Regions from separate parts of the Homo sapiens genome. Here regions 1, 3 and 4 are each linked to region 2. Evidence: promoter capture Hi-C in human tissues and cell types (Jung and others, 2019). All regions are on one chromosome and are shown on one strand. The core of a region is centred on a gene start or on the middle of the fragment in contact, and the rest is flanking DNA. Distances in the headings are between cores, read along the strand shown.

Evidence for each region. Contacts are between HindIII fragments. The study calls those that stand out against the background at their distance.
Region 1: a contact is called between a fragment that was not itself captured here and the fragment with the promoter of ZNF600 in region 2, in 1 of the 25 tissues and cell types used here (pancreas).
Region 3: a fragment that was not itself captured here is called in contact with the fragment with the promoter of ZNF600 in region 2 in 2 of the 25 tissues and cell types used here (H1 embryonic stem cells and adrenal gland).
Region 4: a contact is called between a fragment that was not itself captured here and the fragment with the promoter of ZNF600 in region 2, in 5 of the 25 tissues and cell types used here (heart left ventricle, mesendoderm cells, pancreas and 2 more).

What each region holds. Positions count from the first base shown.
Region 1 is chr19:53,000,204-53,008,049 of GRCh38, reverse strand. It overlaps LOC124904758 (a long non-coding RNA gene), which reads left to right. Exons shown (of 2, transcript XR_007067327.1): 2 at 1-1,490. It also overlaps the pseudogene ARPC1AP2. Among named protein-coding and RNA genes, the nearest start is that of ERVV-1, 9.8 kb to the left of the region's middle. The HindIII fragment of the contact is 4,230 bases long and covers 130-4,359 here.
Region 2 is chr19:52,784,040-52,790,986 of GRCh38, reverse strand. It overlaps ZNF600 (zinc finger protein 600), which reads left to right and starts at 4,196. Exons shown (of 6, transcript NM_001321866.4): 1 at 4,196-4,392. RefSeq lists enhancers at 1-155, 687-1,217, 3,520-4,377, 4,378-5,236 and silencers at 4,038-4,187, 6,935-6,947. The HindIII fragment of the contact is 28,786 bases long and covers 1-6,947 here.
Region 3 is chr19:52,652,459-52,660,443 of GRCh38, reverse strand. LOC122539214 (Zinc finger protein LOC122539214) reads left to right here. Exons shown (of 4, transcript NM_001396016.1): 3 at 4,757-4,883; 4 at 6,041-7,985. The coding sequence ends at 7,776. It also overlaps a transcript of ZNF83 not described here. Among named protein-coding and RNA genes, the nearest start is that of ZNF83, 18 kb to the right of the region's middle. The HindIII fragment of the contact is 5,670 bases long and covers 3,547-7,985 here.
Region 4 is chr19:52,593,543-52,600,547 of GRCh38, reverse strand. It overlaps a transcript of ZNF701 not described here and the pseudogene ZNF137P. Among named protein-coding and RNA genes, the nearest start is that of ZNF701, 27 kb to the right of the region's middle. The HindIII fragment of the contact is 3,122 bases long and covers 872-3,993 here.

The DNA of each region.
Region 1 (7,846 bases), core at 995-3,494, 220 kb before region 2:
GTGGATTTTCTGCCACCTTCACAAGCCTCCTGCAGGGAGGGTCACCGTGTCTCAGATCTACTCACTGTGGAGTTTAAATCCTCCCTCCTCTGCTTGTCACCCCTCAGGGTGAGCTGAGAAGTCAGCCAGAGGGAGCAGAGTGACAGTGGCTGAAGGGAAATGGTACTGGGCAGTTGATAGTGAACAGAGCCCGAGAGGAAAAGCCCCTCCCCTTAAGGCTGCAAGATCTGCATTAGGGCAGGAGGTTCTTCAGTGCAGAAAGAAGCAGAGGTCGTCAACCAGAGGATCTGGCACCAGCTTTTTGGCACTTACCCAGAAGAACAGTTCACAGGCCACCAGGGGAAAACACCAGATGTTACCAGGAGGGGCGTGGAAGTCCTCTGGTTCTTGGTCTCCTTGAATTCAGTCAAGAGACACGCAGAAAGAGTTAAGCAGGTAAGTGCCCTTTATCTAAAGGCGTAGGAGCTCGGAAAGAAGAGATACCCTGAACAGTGGAGCAGGGTGGGCTCCTCAAAAGAATGAGCCTGTCCCTACTAGTGTTGGGCAGAGCCTTTTTGTGAGAATCTGACATGATTATTCATGAAGGGGCTGTGCAGGGATGTTCCTAGTAAGCACGTTCCAGGAAGTCCTCTGATCAGGAAAGCCCTGTGACGGTCCGTGCTGGTACACACGTCACATATCTCATTAGCATCTCAAATCTCCAGCCAGGGATGTGTGTTTCAGTATCATTTTGAGCAGAAGGCTCTTCTAGGGTGGGTTATTGCAGAAGTACACATGGTTGTTAATGGGGAAAATCCCCCATCTCGATTATGTCCAGCTAGCCCCTGATAAGTCCCCTTCTGGGCCAGAGGAGTGCAGCCACAAGGCCAGGTGGAGGCAATGTAGCCACTGATCTTTTCTTGCTGTCAGTGGGCAGCATCTTTAAGGAGACTCTCAGTGAGTTGCATTTCTTTTTTCTTTTTTCTTTTCTTTTTTTTTTTTTTTTGAGACAGAGTCTCGCTCTGTCACCCAGGCTGGAGTGCAGTGGCCCGATCTCGGCTCATTGCAAGCTCCGCCTCCCGGGTTCACGCCATTCTCCTGCCTCAGCCTCCTGAGTAGCTGGGACTACATGCGCCCACCACCAGGCCAGCTAAGTTTTTGTATTTTTAGTAGAGATGGAGTTTCACTGTGTTAGCCAGGATGGTCTTGATCTCCTGACCTCGTGATCCACCTGTCTCGGCCTCCCAAAGTGCTGGGATTACAGGCATGAGCCACTGTGCCTGGCCAGTGAGTTGCATTTCTAAATATTCCTTTCCAAAGTGTCAGAGACATTTGAACCAGAGCAATTCCATCTGGAATAGGGGCTGGAGAAAATAAGCCTGAGACCTGCTGGGTTACATTCCCAGTAAGTGAAGGCATTCTTAGTCATAGGATGAAACAGGAGGCTGCTCTGACTATGGAGTAGCCATACTTTATTCCTTTACTCTCTTAATAAACTTGCTTTCACTTTACTGTATGGATTCACCTTGAATTCTTCCTTGCGTGAGATCCAAGAACCCTCTCTTAGGTTCTGGATCAGGACCCCTTGCGGGTGACACAGAATCTCCTTACCTGCTCATGCCTCGCTATCTGCCTCCTGCAATACTTTCACCTGGTTTGTGGATAGAAAAACTTAATTACACCGAGTTCATCCACTTCTGTATGTTCTCTCTGTATAACCAATCTGAATGTAAATTCACCTTAAGCTTTTTCCCCCAGGTCACAGAAAAAAACAGAATTTTCACCTTCGTTGAGTTTATTCTCATCAACTTATTTCTCTGATAGAGAGAAAACTTCTATTAAGTGTCTTCATCAGGGCTCCACTGGTATAAAAAGGGATGTCAAGAAAATTTAGATGAATTTGAGATGTGACATGAATCTGACATATAAATTAGTGCTAGTATTTTCTTTTCTTTTTTCTTTTTTTTTGGGGGGGCGGTGGGGAGGGAGTCTCACTCTGTCACCCAGGCTGGAGTGTAGTGGTGCAATCTCGGCACACCGTAACCTCTGCCTCCCAGGTTCAAGGGATTCTCCTGCCTTAGCCTCCCAAGTAGCTGGGATTATGGGCGCCCGCCAGCATGCCCAGATAATTTTTTTTTTAATTTTTAGTAGAGATGGGTTTCACCATGTTGGCCAGGCTGGTCTCAAACTCCGGACCTCAGGTGATTTACCCACCTCAGCCTCCCAAAGTGCTCCCAAAGGTGTGAGCCACCATGCCCGGCCTCTTTTTTCCGCTTTCGTTGCCCAAGCTGGCATGCAGTGGCGCCATCTCGGCTCACTGCAACCTCCACCTCCTGGGTTCAAGCGATTCTTCTGCCTCAACCTCCCGAGTAACTGGGATTACAGGCATGCACCACTGTGCTTGGCTAATTTTGTATTTTTAGTAGAGATGGGGTTTCTCCATGTTGGTCAGGCTGGTCTCAAACTCCCCACCTCAGGTGATCCACCCGCCTTAGCCTCCCAAAGTGCTGGGATTACAGGCGTAAGCCACTGCACCCGACCTAAGTGCTTGTATTTTCTTTCTTTCTTTTTTTTTTTCCCACATTTAGTTCTTTTATTTAATTTTCTAGTGGACAATTTACATATCTCCCTCACCCTGTCTTTTAAGTTAGTGTGACAATTTTCCATAATAAACTACTTAAAGGGAAGCTTTGGTCAAGAATGGAATGAAATCGCAAAAAAAATAAAAAAATAAAAAAAAAAATACTGCTTTAAAAAAACCAGCATTTTCACCAATTTTATATTCAAACAAAACCACACAGCATTGGCCTGCTATGTGTTTTCAGTGTTTCCTTGGGTCTAGCTTCCTCGCCATCGTGCCACGGCACAGCTGCGGTTGGCCACAGTTTGTCATGCTAGATGGCGAAGGCTCACTCAGCTTCACATTATGTGGAGGACCTGGATGGAAGACTCGAGGGTCTTGAAATCCCAAATTGTCATGGCTCCATCAATGCCAGTAGTGCAAAATTTGCGACAACCTTGCTTGTCTACCTCATAAATAGAGACGTGAGTGATGCTATTCTGGTGCAGCCTCTCCAAGGCCATGTTGTGGTCCTCAATCGTGGCCCTCGTGTCCATGTTGCGGAAGTGTTCTATGGCAGACATGTTGCGTTGGATGCTCTGTTTTGGAATGTCTAACTTGGAGACGAAGGTCAGGCAGCCGCGGTCATCATAATTAAAGAGCATTGGGTAGCAGTCATGGCCAGCAGCCACGACACTGTTCTCTGAGACAAATGACACACTCAGGAGTGGTAGGAACTCTGTCTTCAGAATTGAGACCTGCACACTTTTTGAGGCATCAGCAACAGATAACGGTGCTGTCGTGGCTGACCCAGGCCAGGCGGCTCCCACTGGCAGAGAAGCTTACCCCGTGGACCCAGCCACCGGTGCCACTGCCACCAAACTCTGACATCAGCTGCCCAAAAGGCATCTTGGTGCCCCAGGGCATGCTGGCTGGCTTTTCATCCACTTCTTTAATGTAAGCAGAAAACACTCTGCATTTGAAGTCACATGATCCTGCTGCCAGCAAAACATTGTTGGGATGCCAATCCAAGCTGAGGACTGTGGAGCGAATCGGCTTTTTAATATGCTTGCTTACCCACCAGTCATTTTCAGACTCAAAGTAACAAACAAATGAGTCATGCTCCACTTCCCACAGCAAATTTGTTCTCTAGCGGGGACCACTTCACAAAAGTAGCTGCACGATTAATTCTAAGGATCACCAGGGTTGGCTTCCAGACACCATCTTTCTGACTCCAGACATAGGCATTGCAGTCTACCCCGCAAGTGACGATGCGGTCGCTCTTGGGAGCCCAGTGAATGCCTGTGATATGTCCATTGTGCTCACTGAGTTCACGAGCTTTCACTCGCTGGCTCCCATGCTTCTTATAGATGTGCGCTTCCTGATTATCAGGACTGAGGGCAATCTGGGTACGATCCCTGTTCCAGGCACGACAGGTGATTGGCTCTAGTAAAAACTGATGCAGTGATGTCATTCTTAGTGTTTTCAAAGGAGAGAAGGCTGGGATCGGGGAAGTCCGGACGGGCTCAGAGCAGAGGATTTGCGGACTCTGGGCTGTCGACGTGAACCAGTGCTTGCATTTTGTAATTGTTACCAAAGAATTGATAAAACTGTGAGAGTGTGTTTTTCCATGGTCAGCAGGAAAATGGAAAAGGAAACACCATTTTTCTTTTTCTTTTTCTTTTGGAGACAGAGTCTCGCTCTGTCACCCAGGTTGGAGTGCAGTGGTGTGATCTTGGCTCACTGCAACCTCTGCCTCCCAGGTAGGTTCAAGCAATTCTCCTGCCTCAGCCTCCCGATTAGCTGGGATTACAGGCTCACACCACCACGCCTGGCTAATTTTTTTGTATTTTTACTTGAGATAGGGTTTCACCATGTTGCTCAGGCTGGTCTCAAACTCCTGAGCTCAGGCAGTTCACCCGCCTCAGTTTCCCAAAGTACTAGGATTACAGGTGTGAGCCATCGCACCCAGCCCACTATTTGTCTTAATATATCTCTAGGTTTCTGTTCAATTTAACAGTTACACAGACCCCTGAATTTAGAGATTTAGAGCCATATCTTCCAATAATTACTAATGTCTCTTGTATGTGATAGGAATGAATAACACACAGCCAAAATGAACACTCAAGGCCCTTTCGTTCCATTCAAAAACTGAGGTATGGGGCAACATCGCTATTGTTCCTATTTTTAGTTCTATTTTTCAAATTCTACACATGTATTATTATTTTTTCTCTTGGAGACGGAGTTTCGCTCTTGTTGCCTAGGCTGGAGTACAATGGTGCAATCTCGGCTCACAGTAACCTCCGCCTCCTGGGTTCAAGCGATTCTCCTGCCTCAGCCTCCTGAGTAGTTGGGATTACAGGCATGCACCACCACACCTGGCTATTTTGTATATTTTTAGTAGAGACGGAGTTTCTTCATATTGGTGAGGCTGGTCTCGCTCCTGATCTCAGGTGATCCGCCTGCCTCGGCCTCCCAAAGTGCTGGGATTACAGGTGTGAGCCACTGCGCCTGGCCTATATTTATTATTTTTTAAATTTTGTTTTATGTTACGTGTGGTGACAGTGTTGAAGTTTATTACAACCCTGTAAACCTAGTAAAGGGTTGAAGAAATAGCAAAGATTGAAGAAACCACCAGAGGAGCACATGTTCCCCAGGCCTCTTGAGGCCTCTAGGGCAAAAGCAAAACAAAAACAAAAACAAAAACAAACAAACAAAAAAACAAATAAAACCCACCGGAAACCACTCCCCTGCCCAATCCCTTGTTTTTGTTTTCCCTAGAAACAGCTTACTTCAAAGCTTACCCTCTTTGTTTACATAAGAAAAAACTCCAAATTCCCACGGTTTGTCTCATCAAGGATTTCTCACTGATGGTGGAAACAATGCTTCTTAACTTACTCAAACCTTAGGCTTCCCTGTTTCTCCAAGCCCCTGACTGTTGGACTATTCTTGGCCATTGAAATTCAGAACAACCTCTATTTCTCTCTCTCTCTCTTTTTTTTTTTTTTTTTTTTTTTTTTTTGAGGCAGTTTCACTCTTGTTGCCCAGGCTGGAGTGCAATGGCATGATATCGGCTCACTGCAACCTCTGCCTCCCAGATTCAGGTGATTCTCCTGCCTCAGCCTCCCGAGTACCTGGGATTACAGGCATGCGCCACTGTGCCTGGCTAATTTTGTATTTTTAGTAGAGACAGGGTTTCTCCATGTTGGTCAGGCTGGTCTCGAACTCCTGACCTCAGGTGATCCACCTGCCTTGGCCTCTCAAAGTGCTGCGATTACAGGCATGAGCCGCCGTGCCCGGCTAACAACCTCTATTTCTTAACCACATATGGGCACTGTGATTGAGAACAACTTCTCTTTGTTTGTTTGTTTGTTTTAGAGATGGAGTCTTGGCTTACTGCAAGCTCTGCCTCCCGGGTTGAAGTGATTCTCCTGCCTCAAACTCCCCAGTAGCTGGGATTACAGACCTGTGCCACCACCCCCAGCTAATTTTTTTATTTTTAGTAGAGACAGGGTTTCACCATGTTGGCCAGGCTGGTCTTGAACTCCCGTCCTCAAGCGATCCACCCGCCTTGGTGTCCCAAAGTGCTAGGATTACAGGCATGAGCCATGGCGTCCAGCCCAACTTTGCCTTTTTAATGTCCCATCCCAAGAGTAAGCTGACCTTAGGATAAAATATTCACTGAATAGGTCACAGCAGATGCTTATCCACTGCCCTGTACCTGGCGCTTTCTAACCTTGCTTCCTTCTCCTTATAAAAGAGAAGCCCTTTTCTGTGCAACTCATATATTTGCAGATCTTGGGGTTGGAGCATTTTCCCTATTGCAATATACCTTTTGAATAAAATCTAACCAATATCTAAATTTGTTTTTTGACAGTAGTAAACATTTTCTTTTTAGTTTTCTTTTTTTTTTTTTTTTTGAGACGGAGTCTCTCTGTTTCGCCCAGGCCGGAGTGCAGTGGTGCAATCTCGGCTCACTGCAAGCTCCGCCTCCCGGGTTCACACCATTCTCTTGCCTCAGCCTCCTGAGTAGCTGGGACTACAGGTGCTCACCACCGCGCCCAGCTAATTTTTTGTATTTTTAGTAGAGATGGGGTTTCACCATGTTAGCCAGGATGGTCTCGATTTCCTGACCTTGTGATCCACCTGCCTCAGCCTCCCAAAGTGCTGGGATTACAGGCATGAGCCACCGCGCCCGGCCCAGTAGTAAACATTTTCATTGTTCCGTCTGTGTTAGAATATGCACATGCTTTTTCCTGTGACACTGGCTATAATATAAGCTCAATAGATGAAAGTAGTTTCAGGCATGGTGGCTCATGCCTGTAATCCCAGCACGTTTGAAAGCAAAGGCGGCCAGATGGCTTGAGCCCAGGAGTCAGAAACCAACCTGGGCAACTTGGCGAAACCCATCTCTACTAAAAAATACAAAAATTAGCTGGGCGTGGTGGCACGCCCTGTAGTCCCAGCTACTAGGGAGGCTGAGGTGGGAGGATCACCTGAACCAGAAAGGTTGAGGCTGCAGTGAGCTGAGATGGCACCACTGCACTCCAGCCTGAGTGACAGAGTGAGACCCTTTTTCAAAAAACAAGTAGTTTCTATTTTAACTTTTTGGAAACATCTAATTACTTTGCATTTCTCTTATAATGATATTACAAGGATGTATATGTCAAAATCTTTCTGTGATTAAGAAAATCCTTTTTTTTTTTTTTTTTTTTGAGATGGAGTTTCTCTCTTGTTGCCCAGGCTGGAGTGCAGTGGTGCTATCTCAGCTCACTGTAACCTCCGCCTCCCGGGTTCAAGTGATTCTCCTGCCTCCACCTCCTGAGTAGCTGGGATTAGAGCCATGTGCCACCACACCCGGCTAATTCTGTATTTTTAGTAGAGACGGAGTTTCTCCATGTTGGTCAGGCTGGTCTTGAACTACTGACCTCAGGTGATCCGCCCGACTTGGCCTCCCAAAGTGCTGGGATTACAGGTGTGGGCCACCACACCCGGCAGGAAATATTCTTTTAAATTTCTTGTGAATCAGTATGTCCATGTTGCTTCCTTGACATTTCTAGAAGCAACAAAACTTTACATATACAAAATGGAATCATGACTTTCCGCTACAATCAGCTTCTTGTCTACCGTTCTGAGGTTAACAAAAACTGTCACAATCAATTCTTTTTTTTTTTTTTTGCATGGAAGCATGGAAGTCCAGGCTCAGTGTTCTTTTTTGGCTACTTAGCAATATTGCATAATACAGAATTATAATGCTGTGACAGGAAAACATACTTCCATATTACATGTTAAGTTGGAGATTGCCAT
Region 2 (6,947 bases), core at 2,947-5,446:
ATGTTGGTCTGGGTGTGGTGGCTCACACTTGTAATCCCAGCATTTTGGGAGTCCAAGGTGGGTGGATCACTTGAGGCCAGGGGTTTGAGACCAGCCTGTCCCACATGGTGAAACCTCATCTCTACTAAAAATATGAGTTGGGAGTGATGGCTCATGCCTGTAATCTCAGCTACTCAGGAGGCTGAGGCAGGAGAGTCACTTGAATCCGGGAAGTCGAGGTTACAGTAAGCCGAGATTGTGCCACTGCACTCCAGGCTGGGCAACAGAGCAAGACTCCATCTCAAAAAAAAAAAAAAAAAAAAAAGGAGAGAGAGAGAGATAATGTTGCTCTGTGGCTTAGTTTTAGAGTACAAAGGCACAATTTAGAGTTTACAGCAGCCTGAAACTCCTAGGTTCAAGTAATTCCGACTTTAGACTCCCAAAGAGCTTGAAAGATAGGCATGGGTCACCACATGTGGGTAATTGTTTTATTTATTTATTTATTTATTTTGAAATGGAGTCTCGCTCTGTTGCCCAAGCTGAAGTGCAGTGATGCGATCTCAACTCACTGCAACCTCTGCCTCCTGGGTTCAAGCGATTCTTCTGCCTCAGCCATCCAAGTAGCTGGGGCTAAAGGTGTGCACCACCACACCTGCAAAATTTTTGTATTTTTAGTAGAGATAGGGTTTCACCATGTTGGCCAGGCTGTTCTCAAACTCCTGACCTCATGATCTGCCCTTCTTGGCCTCCTAAAGTGCTGGAATTAAAGGCGTGGGGCACATGTATGTCAGGCCTCTGAGCCCAGGCCAGGCCATCGCATCCCCTGTGACTTGCACGTATACGCCCAGATGGCCTGAAGTAACTAAAGAATCACAAAAGAAGTGAATATGCCCTGCCCCACCTTAACTGATGACATTCCACCACAAAAGAAGTGTAAATGGCCGGTCCTTGCCTTAAGTGATGACATTACCTTGTGAAATTCCTTCTCCTGGCTCATCCTGGCTCAAAAAGCTCCCCCACTGAGCACCTTGTGACCCCCACTCCTACCCACCAGGGAACAAACCCCCTTTGACTGTAGTTTTCCTTTACCTACCCAAATCTTATAAAACGGCCCCACCCCTATCTCCCTTCACTGACTCTCTTTTTGGACTCAGCCCGCCTGCACCCAGGTGAAATAAACAGCCATGTTGCTCAAACAAAGGCTGTTTGGTGGTCTCTTCACACGAATGCTCATTAAAGTGTACGGCCGTATTTTTCATATTTTTTTTAATTTTGTTGTCCAGGCTGGAGTACAGTGCTGCAATCATACCTCACCATAGCCTTGATCTCCTGGCCTCAAGGGATCCTCCCATGTTGGCCTCCCAAATTGCTGGCATTCCAGGTGTGAGACAGCCTCCCTGGCTGGACTCTGTACTTTTTTGTGATAGAGTCTCGCTCCATTGCCCAGGATGGATTGCATTGGTGAAGAGGTGGGTTGCCCCTCCACACCTGTGGGCATTTCTCGTCAGGTGGAACGAGACACTTTGAAAAGAAAGAGACACAGAGACAAAGTATAGAAGAGAAAGTTACATGTATACATAAAATGAGTGAGAAAATACATTTCCAAAATTCTTTTGAGTTGAGATGTGAGAGAAAAATGTTTCAAGACCTCATCCCTAGATATCTGAGTCCCAGGAGCTCTGTGACATCAACTCCTGCCTCTGTCCTCCTCCCTACCTCTACTGTAACCATGCAGGCTTCTTTTCTTTTTCTGGGACTCAGGTTGCTCCTTTCTCAGGGCCTTCACCTGGGCTGTCCCTCTGCCTAGGACTCTCTGGCCACTCAGCTGCAAGTGACAAGCAGCCTTTCTTCCCTAAGTCTTTGTTCTGACATCACTTTTTCTATGAAAACTTTTGTGTTCTCCCACAGTCCCCCATTTGACATGACAGCCCCACCTTCACCCCCATCTCTGGCCCATGTTGCCTGTTCTGTGTGATCCTTTTTGCTCCTTCGCTGTTCACTGGATCCTGGTGGGAACAAGTCCCCAAGCGGAGAGCAGAGCCAGAAGGTGGGGCTCTGCGGGGCTGGTGCCCTGAGTGGAGCTCAAACTTGGCTTCACATTAGGGTTTTCAGGCATTTTGCAAATATAGCTTCTATGCTGTTTTATCAGAGATTGCTATTATCACAGTATGGGACCCACCCTCAATAATACCTACAATGGTGCAGGTGATTCTCATCTGTCTCCAGCATTGAACATCAAGGCAGTTTCCTCCATGTTGAGAGCTGAGATCAGCCTGTGATCCACAGGGAGGTGAGGGGGCTGTGCTCTGCATGGGGTTTGGTTAGGGCCAGATCTGTGCCCTGAAGATCTGTGTCCTGCTGCAGCGTGTGTGTGGACTTTTGCAGGAGGGAGCAAGACCTCAAAACAGGTCAAAATTGCCCTTGTAGGTCTTCCTGTGGCACCTTCTTATCTCCACATAATCTCTGGTGCAGTGGGCAGCAGAGAACCATCTTTATCCCTGGTGAGGTCTCCCCTGTGTGTGTGTTTTGTCACAGGAAAGGAGGGAGTGATTTCTAAAAATTAAATCTCGTATTTTTTTTTACATACAGGATTGATTTTCCAAAGACTCATGTTACGTGAGGAAGACACCAAGAGGAGCAAAGAAAAGGAGCCAGGGATGGCTCTTCCTCAGGTGGAGTAATATTCCTCGGTGGATTCTTCTGTCTCTTTCCTTTCTGAAATGCCAGGTATTGTAGTAGCCAGTCTTCTGTGAGTCTGAAGCATCCTGCCTCACACGTTTGCTCACACTAACCCATGCCTTTTCTCAGTCCTTGTCATCTTCACTTAAATTCCATCTTCTATAACCTAGTGACATGAGCTTGGGAAGAGGCTGCACTGGGCATGGTCCTGGGAAGGGCTCACACCAGAGATGGATGGAGATGGGGTGTGGACCCCAAGGTGTCAGTGATATTGGGCAGCAGGGATTGTTCAGGGGCCACATCTGGATGCACATTTAGCTCTTTGTGGATCAGATCAGAGAATCTATGTATGAAAGTCATACATTAATGTATGCACTGGTATCTGTGTACTGGTATCTGGTAAATTCTGGAAAAGGAGACAAACTAGGGGAGATATTTCTTTTTCTTTTTCTTTTTCTTTTTTTTTTTTGAGACGTAGCCTCGCTCTGTCGCCCAGGCTGGAGTGCAGTGGCACGATCTTGGCTCACTGCACGCTCCGCCTCCCGGGTTCACTCCATTCTCCTGTCTCAGCCTCCCTAGTAGCTGGGATTACAGGCACCCACCACCACGCTTGGCTAATTTTTTTGTATTTTTTAGTAGAGATGGGGTTTCACTGTGTTAGCCAGGATGGTCTCGATCTCCTGACCTCATGATCTGCCCGCCTCAGCCTCCCAAAGTGCTGAGATTACAGGTGTGAGCCAGCGCGCCCGGTCTTGTTTTTGTTTGGGTTAGGCGGGCTCCTGTAGTTCCAGTTACTCGAAAGGCTGAGGCAGGAGAAGGGCGTGAACCCGGGAGGCGGAGCTTGCAGTGAGCCAAAATCGTGCCACTGCACTCCAGCCTGGGCGACACAGCGAGACTCCGTCTCAAAAAAAAAAAAAAAAAAAAAAAGTAAAAGAGCGAGAGAGAGATCAGGAAGAGGACCCTGCAGTTAGGGGGTGTTACTTTGTCGCCCAGGATGGCCTGGACCCCCAGGTTCAGGGATTCTCCCGCCGCTGCTTCCTGAGTAGCTGGGACCTCAGGCTTCCGCCTCGTGCCCGCATCCCTGCTGTGTTTAGGCAGCAGGTGGTGACCTCACTCCTCCCTGGCCTGAGCTCTCCGTCCCGCATCCCAGGCGGAGGCCCTAGGGAACACTTTGAAGCTGAGCACGGGGTGGACCCTCCCTCCTGAGTGAATGGAGAATAGAAAGGGAGAGGATTTCTGTTCTGTTCTGTGGGCCATCAGCATGAAATCGTATGTTCCGCCCTGGCAGGGCTTTGCATTTCACATTCTAGTTTGCATTCCCGTTCCAGATAATTCCAGGGCTTTTGAATCATGCCTCAGCCTTCCTGGCCGCTGTCGCCTCCAAAAACTCGAAAAACAGAGGCGCTGAGTGCGAGGCTGAGAAGCACAGGTCCCGCCCCGGGCCCTCCCTCTGCCGGTTCTAAAGGGCAAGGTCTCTCCGCCTGGGGCCCCGCCTCTACCCCGCCCAGGTCCAGCCAACCTGCCCCGGCCTGGCTTCAGTCCTGGGCGCGCACAAACCCGGAAGCGGATCGCGTGGAGTGAAGGTCCTACCACGGCGCGTGAGTTTTGCTCTGCCTTGGATTAAGTCTGCACTTCCCAGGTCCCCGGCGCTTCTGCCCCTGGGACGTGGGATCCCCACGGACCTGGAAATTCTCGCCTGTCTTCCCTTCACCCAGAGCAAATTGAGACGTCCCGGTAAGAGTCTGGAAGTTGCTTGCTTTTGGGTTTGAAGTCGCTCGGAGGCTGGTCCCGTCCCCGGTCTTTCTGCTATAGGGCAATGTATACACTTCCTATCGCGTATTTTTCCTGCTCAAAACATTTTTCTGACTATTCCCGCCCCGTGCTTTTTAAAGTCCTCACCCGCGAGGTGGATTCCAGCCCTGGGCGCCTCCCAGCCTCGCCCCAGTTGGCACCTGGAGCGCGGCGCCCCGGCCCCAGCCCCGGGGAGGCTGCGTCCTCTGCCTGGTCCTGGGATCCTGCAGGTCCCACCTTTGTCTTAGGGTGCCGTCGCCCACCACGTCCCTCCTGGTGCCGGGCCCTGCTGCTCCCCAAGTCTTCGCTTCCCCTGAGCCAGGGTTGGGGTGGGTCGCAGGGGCTTGTCCTATGATACCAGGTGTTCTTTCCTGTCCAGCTCCACCCCCTGGAAAATGCGCTTCTACGGGATGCAGGCGTCTTACTCCAAACCCGCCTGTGATTACTCCAAACCCGCCTGGGCCAAAGGGATCAGGAGATAGAGAGAGGGACTGAGAGAGCAGTAGAAAACCAGAGACAGAGAAAAGAAGAATGAGAAAGGCCCATAACAGATGGCAAAGTAGAGGATGGGTTAGGAATTTGCCAAGAGACAGCAAAAGTGAAAGAAAAAAAACTAAGAAAGCAGGAGGAGAAAAGCAACTGGAGAAATGTAGAGAAAAGCTAGATGTACAGAAAGATGAAGGACAGCAAGGTAGGGAGAGGGGCAGCAAAGAGGGAGGCTCACCAGAGTGAGGGAGAGGAGGAGGGATTTGGAGCCAGGGCAGACAGAGCAGAGTGGTGCTGGTGGCAAGAACAGATGGAGAACCACAGCAGGGAGGACACCTGGGGATCTGAGGTGCTGGAGAGTGGGGACAGAGGGGTATAACAGGGAAGAGAGAATTTAATAGGGAGAGCAGAGGAGACGGAGAGATAAGAGAAGAGGCTGTAATATATAGACATTGAGGAAGATTGAAAGATTGGGGAGAAAGAACAACAAGAGGTTAAATAAGGACCGGGCGCTGTGGGTCATGCCTGTAATCCCAGCATTTTGGGAGGCTGAGGCGGGTGGATCACCTGAGGTCCGGAGTTCGAGACCAGCCTGATCAACAGGGAGAAACCCCGTCTCTATTAAAAATATAAAATTAGCTGGGAGCGGTTGCACATGCCTGTAATCCCAGCTACTAGGGAGGCTGAGGCAGGAGAAACCTTTGAACCTGGGAGGCAGAGGTTGCGGTGAGAGCCAAGATCGCACCGGTGCACTCCAGCCTGCACAACAAGAGTGAAACTCCATCTCAAAAAGGAAAAAAAAAAAAGAGGTTAAATAAGCTGTGAGAATGGAGCAGAAGAGGTGGAAGAGAAGTAATAGAGGGAAGAAGGGGATAAACAGCAGGAGAGGAGAGGGGTACAAAATGAGGAGCACAATCCCAGGGAAAAAGAAAAGAAAACAAGAGCTAGAGAGAGAAGGGGAGAATGAGAGATATGCACAGAATTAGGGAGGGAAGCACAGTAATGAAGAAAGAGGGGCTGGGCGCAGTGGCTCATGCCTGTAATCTCAGCACTTTAGGAGACTGAGGCAAAGGGATTGCTTGAGTCTAGGAGTTCAAGACCAGCCTGGGCAAAATAGTGAGGCTCCCCCCATCTCTGTCAAAAAAGGAAAAAAAAAATTTAACCGGGTGTGATAGTGTGCACCTGCAGTTTCAGCTTCTCTAGGCCGAAGCAGGAGGATCACTTGAGCCCAGGAGCTCCAGGCTGCTGTGAGCAGAGATCATGCCACTGTACTCCAGCCTGGTCAAAAGAGCAAGACCCTGTCTCAAAAGAAAAAAAGGGTGGGGGACTTTGGGTACAGATAAGTGGGTGAGTTCATTGGATATGATTAGTTGTGACATGTTGACTTCTGTGTATATCATCTAATACCTTGTTTAAATTATACAGATGAGATTTAGAATTTTAAAACTCCTGTCTATGAGACATGTACATTCTATAAATTTTGGTATCAGAGGTTAGCTTCTACTTGGAATCCCAGTTATTCAGTTGTGAGTCAGTCTCTTCCCTTTTCCCAGGGTGGGGTAGGAAGTGGGACAGTGATGTGGGGGAAAAAAAATCACTTTCTCTTATTACATAATACTTTTAATTTATTAATTAGTTTATATTTTGAGACAGGGTCTGGCTCTGTCACCCAGGCTGGATTACAATAGCGTTCTCTACTCTAACTGCAGCCTCGACCTCCTAGGCTCAAGCGATCCTCCTCCCTCAGTCTCTCTAGTAGCTGAGACCACAGGTGTGAGACACCAAGCCCAGCTAGTTGTTTTTTTTCTTTGTTTGTTTGTTTTTTTGTAGAAACAGGGTTTCAGTATGTTTCCCAGGCTGGTCTCAAGATCCTGGGCTCAAAGTTTCCTCCTGTCTTGGCCTTGCAAAGTACTGGGATTACAGGGATGAGCCGCCATGCCGGGCCTACCTACTAATTATTATTATTATTTTTTTTTGAGGTGGAGTTTTGCTCTTTTTGCCCAAGCTGGAGT
Region 3 (7,985 bases), core at 5,132-7,631, 130 kb after region 2:
TTTCACCATGTTGGCCAGGCTGGTCTCAAATCCCTGACTTCACTTAATCTCCTTGACAGTTTTTCACTGTTGCTAAGAATAACACACTGGCTGCCTGTGAGCATGGTGACTTCACTGCAGATATCTGGAAGTTTCCTGCAAGTTGGGGCATTGAAAACTGATTGCTTCTTCTTGGATTTGCCATTTCCTCTTTTAGATGTGGGAAGATTCCATCCCTACCCCCAGCTGCAGAGGTGCCCTCTCTGACTAAGACTATGCAAAATTTCCCACTCACTTAAGCAAAGCTTACTACTGTGGTCTTACCACCATGATTCTTACCACCATGGTCTTACCACCGCAATTCTCCTGCCTCAGCCTCCTGAGTAGCTGGGATTACAGTCGCACACCACCACACCCCGCTAATTTTTTGTATTTTTAGTAGAGATGGGTTTCACTATGTTGGCCAGACTGGTCTCGAACTCCTGACCTCATGATCTGCCCGCCTCAGCCTCCCAAGGTCGTGGGATTACAGGCGTGAGTTACCGCCCACCCAGCCGAGAAATATCTTGATAATATTACAGGAGCTCCCTCTTGGGTGAGAGTTAGCTCTTCTTTTGGCTGTTGTTAGGATTCTTTCTCTATCTCTGAATTTTGACAGTTTTATTATGATGTTGTTTGTTATAGGTCTCTTACTTAGATTTATCCATGTTGGATATTCTTAAGGTGTTGAATTTGTTTCTTTTGCATCCTGAAATTAGAAATTTTTGCCATTATGCCTTCCAACAAGCTTTTCTGTTCCTTTCTTCTTCTCACTCACTTCTGTGACTTCTGGTACTCTTTTTTTTTTTTTTGAGTTGGAGTCTTGCTCTGTTGAGGTATTGCTCCTCACAAGAGAGCATTAGCTGTGGGATCTGCATGTCAACCCTGACCTAAACCACATATGAATAAAACATACACTGACACACAGATAATTCCGTTTTGCTAGTTCTGCTGTGTTTCCGACCAGTAGCCTTAAGCAACTGTCTGAACATTTTTATATACCGTTTCTGTTGAGCTGACAACTATTGTCCCGTGATGAAACCTTAGCTTGACTCAACTTCCCCCAGAAGGTGGTAACCTCGAGTGGGCACCAATGACTTACTGATTACTCACTGGCTTGACCACGAAATCCTTCTTTGCCTTTGTTTTCGGGGGTCGCGTTCCTCATGCTTCCATCGCAGCTTTCCTCAAGAGGGCGGTCCTCACGCTTCCTTCACAGGTTGCCTCAAGAGAGGCTTGAACTGTGGGGGGTCTGTTTCTGCAGATCCCTGACTTTCCTCACACAGGACATCAACTGAGGTATTGCTCCTCACAAGAGGGCATTAGCTGCGGGGGTCTGCCCACGGACCCTGGCCCAGACGGATGAATGAAACGTACACCGACACATAGATATTCTGCTTTGCCAGTCCTGCTGGGTGCCCAATCGCCTGCACACCAAGAGCCGGCCCTGAGCAGCTCGCACTCCAGGCATTTATTTAGAATAGAATTAACAACAGAAGTTTGAGTAAACACACTTGAGGATAATTAGCATGGTTAAGAGAGTAGTTTCATGAATGATTAAAGCTCAGGTACTGTGATCTGAAGTAAATACCATTAAGGGGCAATTTCCCTGGTCAGCCTCCCGCTAGAGGGCCATCTGGCTCAAAGGTTAGTTAATGGAGGTAGGGTAAACAGGCTTAACTGGGGAAGCCTCTATTGTCCCTAGTATTTACCCTATGACCTAATGCTCTAAGGTAAGAACCGGGTGCCTTCAGCCTGTTCAATTATTACAAGCTATATAACCTTTCGGCCTTCCAAAAGGTTTGTGACTATTCCCTATAACTTTCCCTAATATTTCTCTTTAATATTTCTGCCCCTATCTTGAGTAAATCCCAACACTGTCACCCAGGCTGGAGTGCAGTGGTGCAATCTCGGCTTACTCCAGCCTCTGCCTCTGGATTCAAGCGATTCTCTCACCTCAGCTTCCCAAGTAACTGAGGTTACAGGTGCGCACCACCACACCTGGCTAATTGTTGTATTTTTGGTAGAGATGAAATTTCACCATGTTGGCCAGGCCGGTCATGAACTTCTGACCTCAGGTGATCCCCACACCCTGGCTTCCCAAAGTGCTGGAATTACAGGCGTGAGTGCTGAAATTACAGGCATGAGCCAGAACCTGGCCTGGGACTTTCATAATGTGTAGGATGGTGTCCTTGATGGTGTCCTGTTAGTCTGTTTAGACTCCCTTCATTTTTCTTTATTCTTTGTTGTTGTTTCTTTTCCTATTCACTACTTTTTTTTTTTTTTTTTGAGATGAAGTTTCACTCTGGTTGCCGAGGGTGGAGTGCAATGGCATGAACTTGGCTCATTGCAACCTCCGCTTTCATGGTTAAAGCAATTCTCCTGCCTTAGCCTTTTGAATAGCCGGGATTACAGGCATGCATCACCATACCCGGCTAATTTTGTATTTTTAGTAGAGACAGAGTTTCTCTATGTTGATCAGGCTGGTCTTGAGCTACCAACCTCAGGTGATCCCCCCGCCTTGGCCTCCCAAAGTGCTAGGATTACAGTCATGAGCCACCATGCCTGTTTTTTTTTTTAGACAGAGTTTTTCTCTTGTTGCCCAGGCTGGAGTGCAATGATGCAATCTCGGCTCACTGCAACCTCCACCTCCCAGGTTCAAGCGATTCTCCTGCCTCAGCCTCCTAAGTAACTGAGATTACAAGCATGCACCACCACATCTGGCTAATTTTGTATTTTTAGTAGAGACGGGGTTTCTCTATGTTGGTCAGGCTGGTCGCGAATTCCTGACCTCAGGTGATCCGCCTGCCTTGGCATCCCAAAGTGCTGGGATTACAGGCATGAGCTACTGTGCCTGGCCCATGCCTGGCCTTTTTTAAAAAATTATTTTATTATTTTTTGAGACAGTCTCACTCTGTCACCCAGGCTGGAGTGCAGTGGGGAGCCCACCACTACACCCAGCTAATCTTTGTATTTTTAGTAGAGACAAAGTTTCACCATATTGATGAGGCTGGTCTCCGAACTGCTGACCTCAAGTGATCTACCCACCTCAGCCTCCCAAATTCCTGATATGAGCTACCTCACCTGTCCCCTTTTCACTAATTTTTAATTTACATAATGTATTCTGATTTTGAACCCATGTATTGAGTTTTTCCATTTAGTTACTGTATTTTTAGCCCGAGAGTTTCTGTGTAGTTCTTCGTAATTTCTGTATGTTGGCTGACCTTCTCATTTTCTTCATGCATTGCATTTATGATTTCTTGAAGTTGTCTCTTAATTCAATGAGCTTCCAACTTTTGGGAGGGTGGGGGTGATAGGGTCTCGCTGTGTCCCCCAGGCTGGAGTGCAGTGGTGCAATCTTGGATCACTTCAAACTCTGCTCTCCAGGCTCAAGCAATCCTCCCACCTCAGCCTCGTGAGTAGCTGTGGATGTGTCCTCTCTAGGTCTTTGCTTATAATGTCCCGACTGAAGTTAATTGAAGTGTGTGTAGGTGTGATTTGCAATGTGTCCAGGAGAGCATTAATGGAGAAGCCCATGATTTTTTTTTTTTTTTTTTTTTTGAGACGGAGTCTCGCTCTGTCGATAGGCTGGAATGAAATGGCACTATCTCAGCTCACTGCAACCTCAGCCTCCCGAGTTCAAGTGATTCTTCTGCCTCAGCCTCCTGAGTAGCTGGGGCTACAGGCGCACACCACCATACCAAGCTAATTTTTGTGTTTTTAATAGTGTCAGTGTTTCAGCATGTTGGCCCAGCTTGTCTTAATCTCTTGACTTTGTGATCCACATGCCTCAGCCTCCATAAGTGTTCGGATTATAGGTGTGAGCCACCATGCCAAGCCAAGCCCATGGTTTTAGTAGAAAACACATTATTTGCAATATATACATACATATATTTTTATTTTGAGAAAGACTTGCTCTGTTGCCCTGGCTGGAGTGCAGTGCTGTCATCTCAGCTTACCACAACCTCTGCCTCCAGAGTTGAAGCAATTCCCCTGCCTCGGCTTCCCAAATAGCTGGGATTACAGGCACATTCCCCCACCATGCCCAGCTAATTTTTCTATTTTTAGTAGATATGGGGTTTCACAATGTAGCCCAGGTTGGTCTCAAACTCCTGACCTTAAGTGATCCACCTACCTTGGTATCCCAAAGTGACAGGATTATAGGTGTGAGCCCCCATGCCTGGCTATATATATATATAGAGAGAGAGAGAGAGAGACGGAGTCTCACTCTGCAGCCCAAGCTGAATTGCAGTGGCACAATCTCAGCTCACCGCAACCTTTGCCTCTGGAGCTCAAGCTATACTCCTACCTCAGCCTCCCAAATAGCTGGGACTAGAGGCATGCACAACCACACCCAGTTAATGTTTTTGTGTTTTCAGTAGAGACTTGGTTTCACCATGTTGCCCTGGGTGGTCTCGAACTCCTGAGCTCAGTTGATACACCCACCTCAGCCTCCCAAACTGCTGGGATTTCAGGTGTGAGCCACCGTGCCCAGACATATATTTTTTGTATTTTCCATAAAACTGAGACTTCCACAGTGACTAGGAGATTTCAAAATCTATCATGGGAAAGTACAATAAAATGCAACTGCACAAAAAGAAATGTTCAAAAATACCTTAATGTGGGTTTGTCAGAACACCGTCTTGGATCAAATCAATACTTATTTTCTCTTTTCTCATTTTGTGTGAAGGTAATGACTCCTCCCTAATGTTTTGTTGAAATGTGTGTTTAATTTTAGGGATGCTTGACTTTCAGGGATGTGGCTATAGAATTCTCTTTGGAGGAGTGGAAATGCCTGAACCCTGCACAGAGGGCTTTATACAGGGCCGTGATGTTGGAGAACTACAGGAACCTGGAGTCTGTGGGTGAGGAAAATGTCCCTCCTGATGTGAGGAATCTGCCCTTGTCTATCTTGGCTCTTCCTGGTTTTGTATTCTCTTTTGTGATTTTGCCGCATACATGCTTTTGATGTACATGTCATTGTTTTCTGCAGTGATGATCCTCCTGTCTGTCATAGACAGCTTCTTAGAGACTATCCTATGGAGTGGTTTTACATAAAAACAGAACATTCATGAACACTTTGACTAATAGAATTGAACGTCATCCTGCTCTAAGCAGAGATGCCCCTGGTAGCCCTGAGCAGAATTGTCAGGGTGGCCCAGGAGATGAGCTAGAAAGCATGACAGTGACTGACAAGTGTTTCCAGCTGTGATTCTGCTTTTGTTTTGTTTTGTTTTTTGAGACAGAGTCTCCCTCTCTTGCTCAGGCTGGAGTGCACTGTTGTGATCTCAGCTCATTGCAACCTCCGCCTCCTGCATTCAAGCAATTCTCATACCTCAGCCTCCCAACCTAACTGGAATTACAGATGCAAGTCACCATGCCTTGCTAATTTTTGTATTTTTATTAGAGATGGGGAATCACCATGTTGGCCAGGCTGGTCTCAAACTCCTTGTCTCAAGCAATCTGCCCACCTCAGCCTCTAGCCAAGTGTTGGGATTACAAACCTGAGCCACCACCCTTGGCCTTTTGTTCTGGTTTTTAAGGAGCATCACAGAAGCATCTCTCACTGGTACTGTGACAGTGATCATCACATAAACTAATGATCATGTTCTCTAAACAGCAGTCACTGCTGTAGAAATTCCTCTTAGGGAGGACATCATTCAGGCTTACTGCATCATATATATGAGGCTCTTGACTGAACTCTGTTTGACATGGAATTTTGCTCTTGTTGCCCAGGCTGGAGTGCAATGATGTGATCTCTGTTCACTGCAATCTCTGCCTCCTAGGTTCAAGAAATTCTCCTGCCTCAGCGTCCTGAGTAGCTGGGATTACAGGCATCCACCACCATGCCTGGCTAATTTTTGTATTTTTAATAGAGACAGGGTGTTCTTAAACTTTGAAGATCATATTTGGGAATTTTAAAATAAGTATTGCTTTTTGTGTAATATTAACACATTTCAGTATTAAATATTATTTACCATCTGTACTTAATTGGAAACCTATTGGTCTTTATATTTTTTAGATAGCTCTTTAAAATCCATGACGGAGTTCTCATCAACAGGGCACGGTAATACAGGAGAAGTGATCCACACAGGGACATTGCAAAGACATAAAAGTCATCACATTGGAGATTTTTGCTTCCCAGAAATCAAGAAAGATATTCATGACTTTGAGTTTCAGTGGCAAGAAATTAAAAGAAATGGCCATGAAGCACCCATGACAAAAATCAAAAAGTTGACTGGTAGTACAGACCGACGTGATCAAAGGCATGCTGGAAACAAGCCTATTAAAGATCAGCTTGGATCAAGCTTTTATTCACATCTGCCTGAACTGCACGAATTTCAGACTGAAGGGAAAATTGATAATCAAGTGGAGAAGTCTATCAACAATGCTTCCTTGGTTTCAACATCCCAAAGAATTTCTTGTAGGCTCAAAACCCATATTTCTAATAGGTATGGGAAGAACTTTCTCCATTCTTCATTATTGACACAAATCCAGGAAGAACACATGAGAGAAAAACCTTTCCAATGTAATGAGTGTGGCAAAGCCTTTAATTATAGCTCACATTTAAGAAGACATCATGTAACCCATTCAGGAGAGAAACAATATAAATGTGATGTATGTGGCAAAGTGTTTCATCAAAAGCAATACCTTGCATGGCACCATAGAGTTCATACTGGAGAAAAACCTTACAAGTGTAATGAGTGTTCCAAGACCTTCGGTCACAAGTCATCTCTTACACGCCATCATAGACTTCATACTGGAGAAAAACCTTACAAGTGTAATGAGTGTGGTAAGACCTTCAGTCAGACGTCATCCCTTGTAGGGCATCGTAGACGTCATACTGGAGAGAAACCTTACAAATGTGAAGGATGTGACAAAGTTTACAGTTGCAGATCACAACTTGAAACACATAGGCGAATTCATACTGGAGAGAAACCATACAAATGTAAGGTTTGTGACAAAGCTTTTAGGCATAATTCATGCCTTTCACGCCATAACAGAGTTCATACTGAAGAGAAACCTTACACATGTAATGAATGTGGCAAGGTTTTCCAGCGTGATTCATACCTTGCACAACATCAGAGAGTTCATACTGGAGAGAAACCTTACACATGTAATGAATGTGGTAAGGTTTTTAATCAAAAAGCACACCTTGCATGTCATTATAGGCTTCATACTGGAGAGAAACCTTACAAGTGTAATGAGTGTGGCAAGACCTTCAGTCAGAAGTCATCCCTTGTGGGCCATCGTAGACTTCATACCGGAGAAAAACCTTACAACTGTCATGAGTGTGGCAAGACCTTTGCTCGAAATTCATCCCTTCTAATTCATAAGGCAATTCATACTGGAGAGAAACCTTACAAGTGTAATGAATGTGGCAAGGTTTTTAATCAACAGTCAAACCTTGCACAACATCAGAGAGTTCATACTGGAGAGAAACCTTACAGGTGTAATGAGTGTGGCAAGACCTTCAGTCATATGTCATCCTTTGTATACCATTATAGACTTCATAGTGGAGAGAAACCTTACAAGTGCAATGAGTGTGGCAAGACCTTCAGTCATATGTCATCCTTTGTATGCCATCATAGACTTCATACTGGAGAAAATCCTTATAAGTGCAATGAGTGTGGCAAAGCCTTTAGTGGGCAGTCATCACTTATTCATCATCAAGCAATCCATGGTATAGGGAAACTTTACAAATGTAATGATTCTCACAAAGTCCTCAGTAATGCTACAAGCATTGCAAATCATTAGAGAATCCATAATGAAGAGAGATCTTACAAGTGTAGTAAATGTGGCAGATATTTCAGACATTGTTCATAGCTTGCAGTTCATCAGTGAACTCATACTGGAAAGAAACGTTACAAATGTCATGATTGCAGCAAGGTCTTCAGTCAAGCTTCATCTTATGCAAAACACAGGAGAATTCATATGGGAGAGAACCTCACAACTGTGATAATTGT
Region 4 (7,005 bases), core at 1,183-3,682, 190 kb after region 2:
CTTAATTTCCTTTTTTTTTTTTTAAGACAGAGTATTTCTCTGTCGTCCAGGCTGGAGTGCAGTGGCAAGGTCTCGGCTCAGTGCAGCCTGTACACCCTGTGTTGAAGTGATTCTCCTGCCTCACCCTCCGGAATAGCTGGCATTACAAGCGCGCCACCATGTCCGGCTAATTTTTGTATAATTGGTAGAGATGGGGTTTCACCATGTTGGCCAGGCTGGTCTCAAACTCCTGACTTGAAGTGATCTGCCTGCCTTGGCCTCCCAGAGTGCTGTGATTACAGGCGTGAGCCACCATGCCTGGCACAAGAAATACTCTTTACTTCACTATTTAAATGTTGAGACAATATATTTGAAAACAAAATGATCTTCCCCCAAATGAAAAATCATCTCCACGATAATAAAGAAATAAAAATCATTTTATTAATAAATAAGCCTTAGACCAGAATGTGATGGGAAATAGAGGAAAAGAGCTAAGAGTTTGAAATCAGATGCTTCAGTGTTCTATACAACCCATTAAGGACATGTTTTCAAGATAAACACTAATCAGTCCTCAGGGAAGAGGACACATAGTTGAACAGTCACACATAGTTCATCCTGACTCTACTTGGTAATGGAGGTGACCATCTGTGTCAGCTAACTAGCGTCATCCTGAGGGAGGGGGAGAAACCCTAACCCACAACTTTTGGCAAGTGTGAGTTTTACAACATGGCGACAGGGGCCCTCTCTGGTGAGGCTCCTACAATCCGACAGAAACTGATGTCAGCAGTAAATAATAAAATTTAGAATATATGATTAAGTACAGAATTTATTTGAAGGCAAAGCTTGGAAATAGCCACGTGGAAACATCAACTCTAAATGAATGGGATCAGCGTTCCCAAGTAGAGACGTTAAGATTTCACACACAGGGAAAGACAGAGAAGCTTTAGCAGAATCACCACGTTTTTTATTCTGGGCCAGTGCATAGGCTGCAGCAACTTGATTGATTACGGATAGATACACTTCAAGGAAGGTTACTTTATCACTACATAAGAAGGGACAATGATCCGAGGAGGTCTTATCTCTGGGGCTACTTAGTCTTCTTAATTACTTACAGGAAAACTCTTAGAAGTTGCACCTGCATTCCACTGGACTCAGGTTGCCTGACCACATTCCTCTCAAGGCTCAGAATTATCTCAAAGTCCATAGCCTTAAATTGAAGTTATTTGATGTTTGAATTATTTAATTTCCTACTGAGATAAAGGTACTGTTTCCCTTGTTGTTTGCCTTTCAAAGAGAGCTCCCAAGTCCTTCAAAAATACACCCCTGGGTCATTAAGCTGAAAAAAGGTTTAATTTCTAAAAAAAAAAAACAAAGTTAGCCGGGCATAGTGGTTCATACCTGTAATCCCAGCTACTCGGGAAGCTGAGGCAGGAGAATCGCTTGAACTCGGGAGACGGAGGTTGTGGTGAGGCGAGATCGTGGCTTGCACTCAAGCCTGGGTAACAAGAGAAAAACTCTGTCTAAAAAAAAAAACCTCAGAAGACAGAGAAAATGAATTTACAAATTTTCTAATTGAATGTTCTAAGAGACAAAAGGAAAGAAAAATCTCTTCCTTTACTTTTAAAGGAGGACTTATACCTCTCATTTATTTGCTTGTTTGAGACAGGGTCTAGCTTTTTCACCCAGGCTGGAGTGTGGTGGCAAGATCAGAGCTCACTGCAGCCTCCAACTTTCTGGCTCAAGTGATCCTCCCACCTCAGCACCCCAAGCAGCTGGGACCACAGGTGTGGACTAACACACCTGGCTGTTTTTTTTTATTTTTAGTAGAGATGAGGTCTTACTATGTTGCCTAGGCTGATTTCGAATTCCTGGGCTTAAGCGATCCTCCCTCCTTGGCCTCTCAAAGTGCTGGGATTACAGGTGTGAGCCACCGCTCCGGGCCCTGAGTTTATTTCCATGAAATATGAAATTATCCTCCACTCCTGGGAGTAATAGGCAGTTTTGCACGTCACCTTTCAGTTTCCATTATCCACTCAAACAACCCAGGACCTTGCTTAGTTTAATAATCCCTTCTAATTGCCAGTGCCCGCGGCAACCAGCGCGCCACTCCACCCCTTTACCGAGGTCCCTGCCCCTCTCCCCCACCCTGCCCCAGACAGAGGGGAGCTCGCCCCGCCTGCCGGATGCGTGACTCTACCTGCTCAAAAAAGGCGCTTTGCATTAAAACCATTTTCAACTTAAGAGGAAAAACGATTCAGCGTTCAGTACAGGTGGCCCAACACAATATGTTGTTTTACCTTCGATTGTTTGAAATATTAACTTAGGGGCCGGGCGCGGTGGCTCGCGCCTGTAATCCCAGCACTTTGGGAGGCCGAGGCGGGCGGATCACGAGGTCAGGAGATCGAGACCATCCTGGCTAACACAGTGAAACCCCGTCTCTACTGAAAATACAAAAAATTAGCCAGGCATGGTGGCGGGCGCCTGTAGTCCCAGCTACTCGGGAGGCTGAGGCAGGAGAATGGCATGAACCCGGGAGGCGGAGCTTGCAATGAGCCGAGATCGCGCCACTGCCCTCCAGCCTGGGCGACAGAGCAAGTCTCTAAAATGGACAGGAGGCATCCCTGTGATATTAGGGGTAATATCACGGCACATCAGAAACTATCCACCAATTAGTACCCGGAGAATCTAGTCCTGCAGGGCAAGAGGATGACAGCAGACGACACCTGGGGTCCAGCTGAGGAGAAAGCCAGGACCCGCCCCCTCGAGACCCTGCCCTTCAAAACACCACTTCCAGACCTTGCCCTCAAGATGACGATCACCCTCTGGCCCGGCCTCCAGGCAGCCTCCTCATTCTTGCCCCGCCCAGATTCTGTTCAAGGCCCTGCCCCTTCTAATCAGGTCCCACCCCAACGGCCACCTACACACTCTCATAGCCAGGTGTGGCTGTGATCTATCAGCCTTGGGCTCCCAAAGTGCTGGGATTACAGGCATGAGCCACCCCACCTGGCCCAATCTTCTTAACATAAACACTTTAATGTAAATTAATTCTTAAACTCAAGGTTAAGTCAACTCAATCTCAAGTCAATGCCTATTTGGCTCTAATGTCAATTAAAGCTTTATGATCTTCTATAGTCACTGTATTTGGAACAGTTATCTCAAAAATGAATTTTCTGATGTTCTGCATGGAGTGCCCACAGACTGAAGACCTTGCCACACTTAAGACATTTGTAAGATTTCTGTCCAGTATGGATTCTCTGATGTCTAATGAGGTGTGAACGTGAAGTCAAGACTTTGCCACAATCATCACACTTGTGAGGTTTCTCTCCTGTATGAATTCTCCTATGTTTTGCATAGGATGAAGCTTGACTGAAGACCTTGCCACAGTCATGATATTTGTAAGGTTTCTCTCCAGTATGAGTTCGCTGATAAACTGCAAGATATGATCGATGTCTGAAAATTTTACCACATTTATTACACTTGTAAGATCTGTCTTCATTATGGATTCTCCAGTGATTTGCAATGGTTGTAGCATTACTGAAGACTTTGTGACAATCATTACATTTGCAAAGTTTCCCTACACCATGGATTGCTTGATGATAAAAAAGTGACGACTTCCCACTTAAGGCTTTGCCCCACTCATTACACTTGTAAGGTTTCTCTCCAGTATAAACTCTCTGATGTTGTGCAAGGTTTGATTGTTGATTAGAAACCTTAGACAGTATGAAGTCTATGATGACATGCAAGGTGTGCTTTTCTACTAAAAACCTTGCCACATTCATTACATGTGTAAGGTTTCTTTCCAGTATGAATTGCCTTATGCATTACAAGGGCTGAATTTTGAGCAAAGGTCTTTCCATACTCGTGAAATGTGTAAGGTTCTCTCCAGTATGAACTCTCTGATGTTGTGCAAGGCATAAATCATGGTGGAAAACCTTGTCACAACCCTTACATTTGTAAGATTTCCCTCCAGTATGAAGTCCATGATGTGCAAGGTTTGCTTTTCTACTAAAAGCCTTGCCACATTCGTTACATGTGTAACATTTCTCTCCAGTATGAACTCTTACGGCATGAAAGGCATGAATTATCCCAGAAAGCCTTGTCACAAACCTTACGTTTGTATGGTTTTTCTCCAGTATGAATTCTCCTGTGTGTTTCAAGTTGTGATCCTCAACTCTAAACTTTGTTGCATTCTTCACATTTGTAATGTTTCTGTACAGTATGAAGTCTATGATGACACTGAAGGGATGACTTCTGATTGAAGGTCTTGGAACACTCATTACACTTGTAAGGTTTTTCTCCAGTATGAACACTATGGTGCCATGCAAGGTATTGCTTCTGATGAAAGACTTTGCCACATACATCACATTTATACTGTTTCTCTCCTGAATGGGTTACGTGATGTCTCCTTAAACATGAGCTATGATTAAAGGCTTTGCCACACTCATTACATTGGAAAGGTTTTTCCCTCATGTGTACTTCTTGTATTTGTGTGAATAATGAAGAATAGAGGAAATTCTTCCCATACTTAATAGAAATATGGGTTTTGAGCCTACAAATTATTTGGGATGTTGAAGCTGAGGAAGCATCATTGATAGACTTCTCCACTTGATTACCAATTTTCCCTTGGGTCTGAAACATGTGGAGTTCAGGCAGATGCGAATGAAAGCTTGATCCAAGCTGATCTTTAATAGGCTTGTTTCCAGCATGTCTTTGATCACGTCAGTCTGTACTACCTGTCAACTCTTTGGTTTCTGTCATGGGTGCTTCATGGCCATTTCTTTAAATTTCTTGCCACTGAAACTCAAAGTGATGAATATCTTTCTTGATTTCTGGGAAGCAAAAATCTCCAGTGTGATGACTTTCATGTATTTGCAACGTCCCTGTGTGAATCACTTCTCCTGTATTACCGTGCCCAGTTGATGAGAACTCCATCATGGATTTTAAAGAGCTATCTAAAAAATATAAAGACCAATAGGTTTCCAATTAAGTACAGATGGTAGGCCAGGTGCAGTGGCTCACACCTGTAGTCCCAGCACTTTGGGAGGACGAGGCAGGTGGATCACAAGGTCAGGAGCTCGAGACCATCCTCGCTAACATGGTGAAACCCTATCTGTACTAAAAATACAAAAAAATTAGCCAGGTGTAGTGATAGGTGCCTATAGTCCTAGCTACTTGGGAGGCTGAGGCAGGAGAATGGCGTGAACCCTGGAGGCAGAGCTTGCAGTGAGGCGAGATCATGCCACTGCACTCCAGCCTGGGTGACAGAGCAATAATCCATCTCAAAAAAAAAAGTACAGATGGTAAATAATAGTTAATATTGAAATGTGTAAATATTACACAAAAAGCAACAGTTATTTTAAACGTCCCAAAAGTGATCTTCAAAGTTTAAGAACACCTTATCTCTACTAAAAATACAAAAATTTGCCAGGCATGGTGGTGGGCGGCTGTAATTCCAGCTACTTGGGAAACCAAGGCAGGAGAATCACTTGAACCCAGGAGGCGGAGGTTGCAGTGAGTGGAGATCATGCCATTGCACTCCAGCCTGGGCAACAAGAGCAAAATTCCATGTCCAGAAAAAAAGAGTTCAGTCAAGAGCCTCCTATATATGAGGCAGTGAGCCTGAATGATGTCCTCCGTAGGAGGAATTTCTACAGCAGTGACTGCTGCTTAGAGAAGATGATCATTAGTTTATGTGATGAACACTGTCACAGTGCCAGTGAAAGATGCTTCTGTGATGCTCCTCAAAAACCAGAACGGGCCAGGTGCGGTGGCTCATGCCTGTAATCCCAGCACTTTGGGAGGCCAAGGTGGGCAGATCACCTGAGGTCGGGAGTTCGAGACCAGCCTGACCAACATGGAGAAACCCTGTCTCTATTAAAAATACAGAAATAGCCGGGCTTGGTGGCACATGCCTGTAATCCCAGCTGCTAGGCAGGTTGAAGCAGGAGAATCGCTTGAACCTGGGAGGTGGGGGTTGCAGTGAGCCGAGATCGCACCATTGCACTCCAGCCTGGGCAACAAGAGTGAAACTCTGTCTCAAAACAAAAAACAAAAAACAAAAAAAACAGAACAAAAGGCCAGGTGCGGTGGCTCATGCCTATAATCCCAACACCTGGATGGAGGCTGAGGCAGGCGGATTGCTTGAGACCAGGAGTTCAAGACCAGCCTGGCCAACATGGTCATATCCCATCTCTAATAAAAATACAAAATTAGTCCCCTCTCCCTCTCCCTCTCCCCATGGTCTCCCTCTCCCTCTCTTTCCAGGGTCTCCCTCTGATGCCGAGCCGAAGCTGGACGGTACTGCTGCCATCTTGGCTCACTGCAACCTCCCTGCCTGATTCTCCTGCCTCAGCCTGCTGAGTGCCTGTGATTGCAGGCGCGCGCCGCCACGCCTGACTGGTTTTCGTATTTTTTTGGTGGAGACGGGGATTCGCTGTGTTGGCCGGGCTGGTCTCCAGCTCCTAACCGGGAGTGATCCGCCAGCCTCGGCCTCCCAAGGTGCCGGGATTGCAGACGGAGTCTCGTTCACTCAGTGCTCAATGGTGCCCAGGCTGGAGTGCAGTGGCGTGATCTCGGCTCGCTACAACCTCCACCTCCCAGCCGCCTGCCTTGGCCTCCCAAAGTGCCGAGATTGCAGCCTCTGCCCGGCCACCACCCCATCTGGGAAGTGAGGAGCGTCTCTGCCTGGCCGCCCATCGTCTGGGATGTGAGGAGCCCCTCTGCCTGGCTGTCCAGTCTGGAAAGTGAGGAGCGTCTCTGCCCGGCCGCCCATCGTCTGAGATGTGGGGAGCACCTCTGCCCTGCCACCCCGTCTGGGATGTGAGGAGCGTCTCTGCCCGGCCGCCCCGTCTGAGAAGTGAGGAGACCCTCTGCCTGGCAGCCACCCCGTCTGATAAGTGAGAAGCCCCTCCGCCCGGCAGCCGCCCCGTCTGAGAAGTGAGAAGCCCCTCCGCCCAGCAGCCACCCCGTCTGGGAAGTGAGGAGCGTCTCCTCCCGGCAGCCACCTCGTCCCGGAGGGAGGTGGGG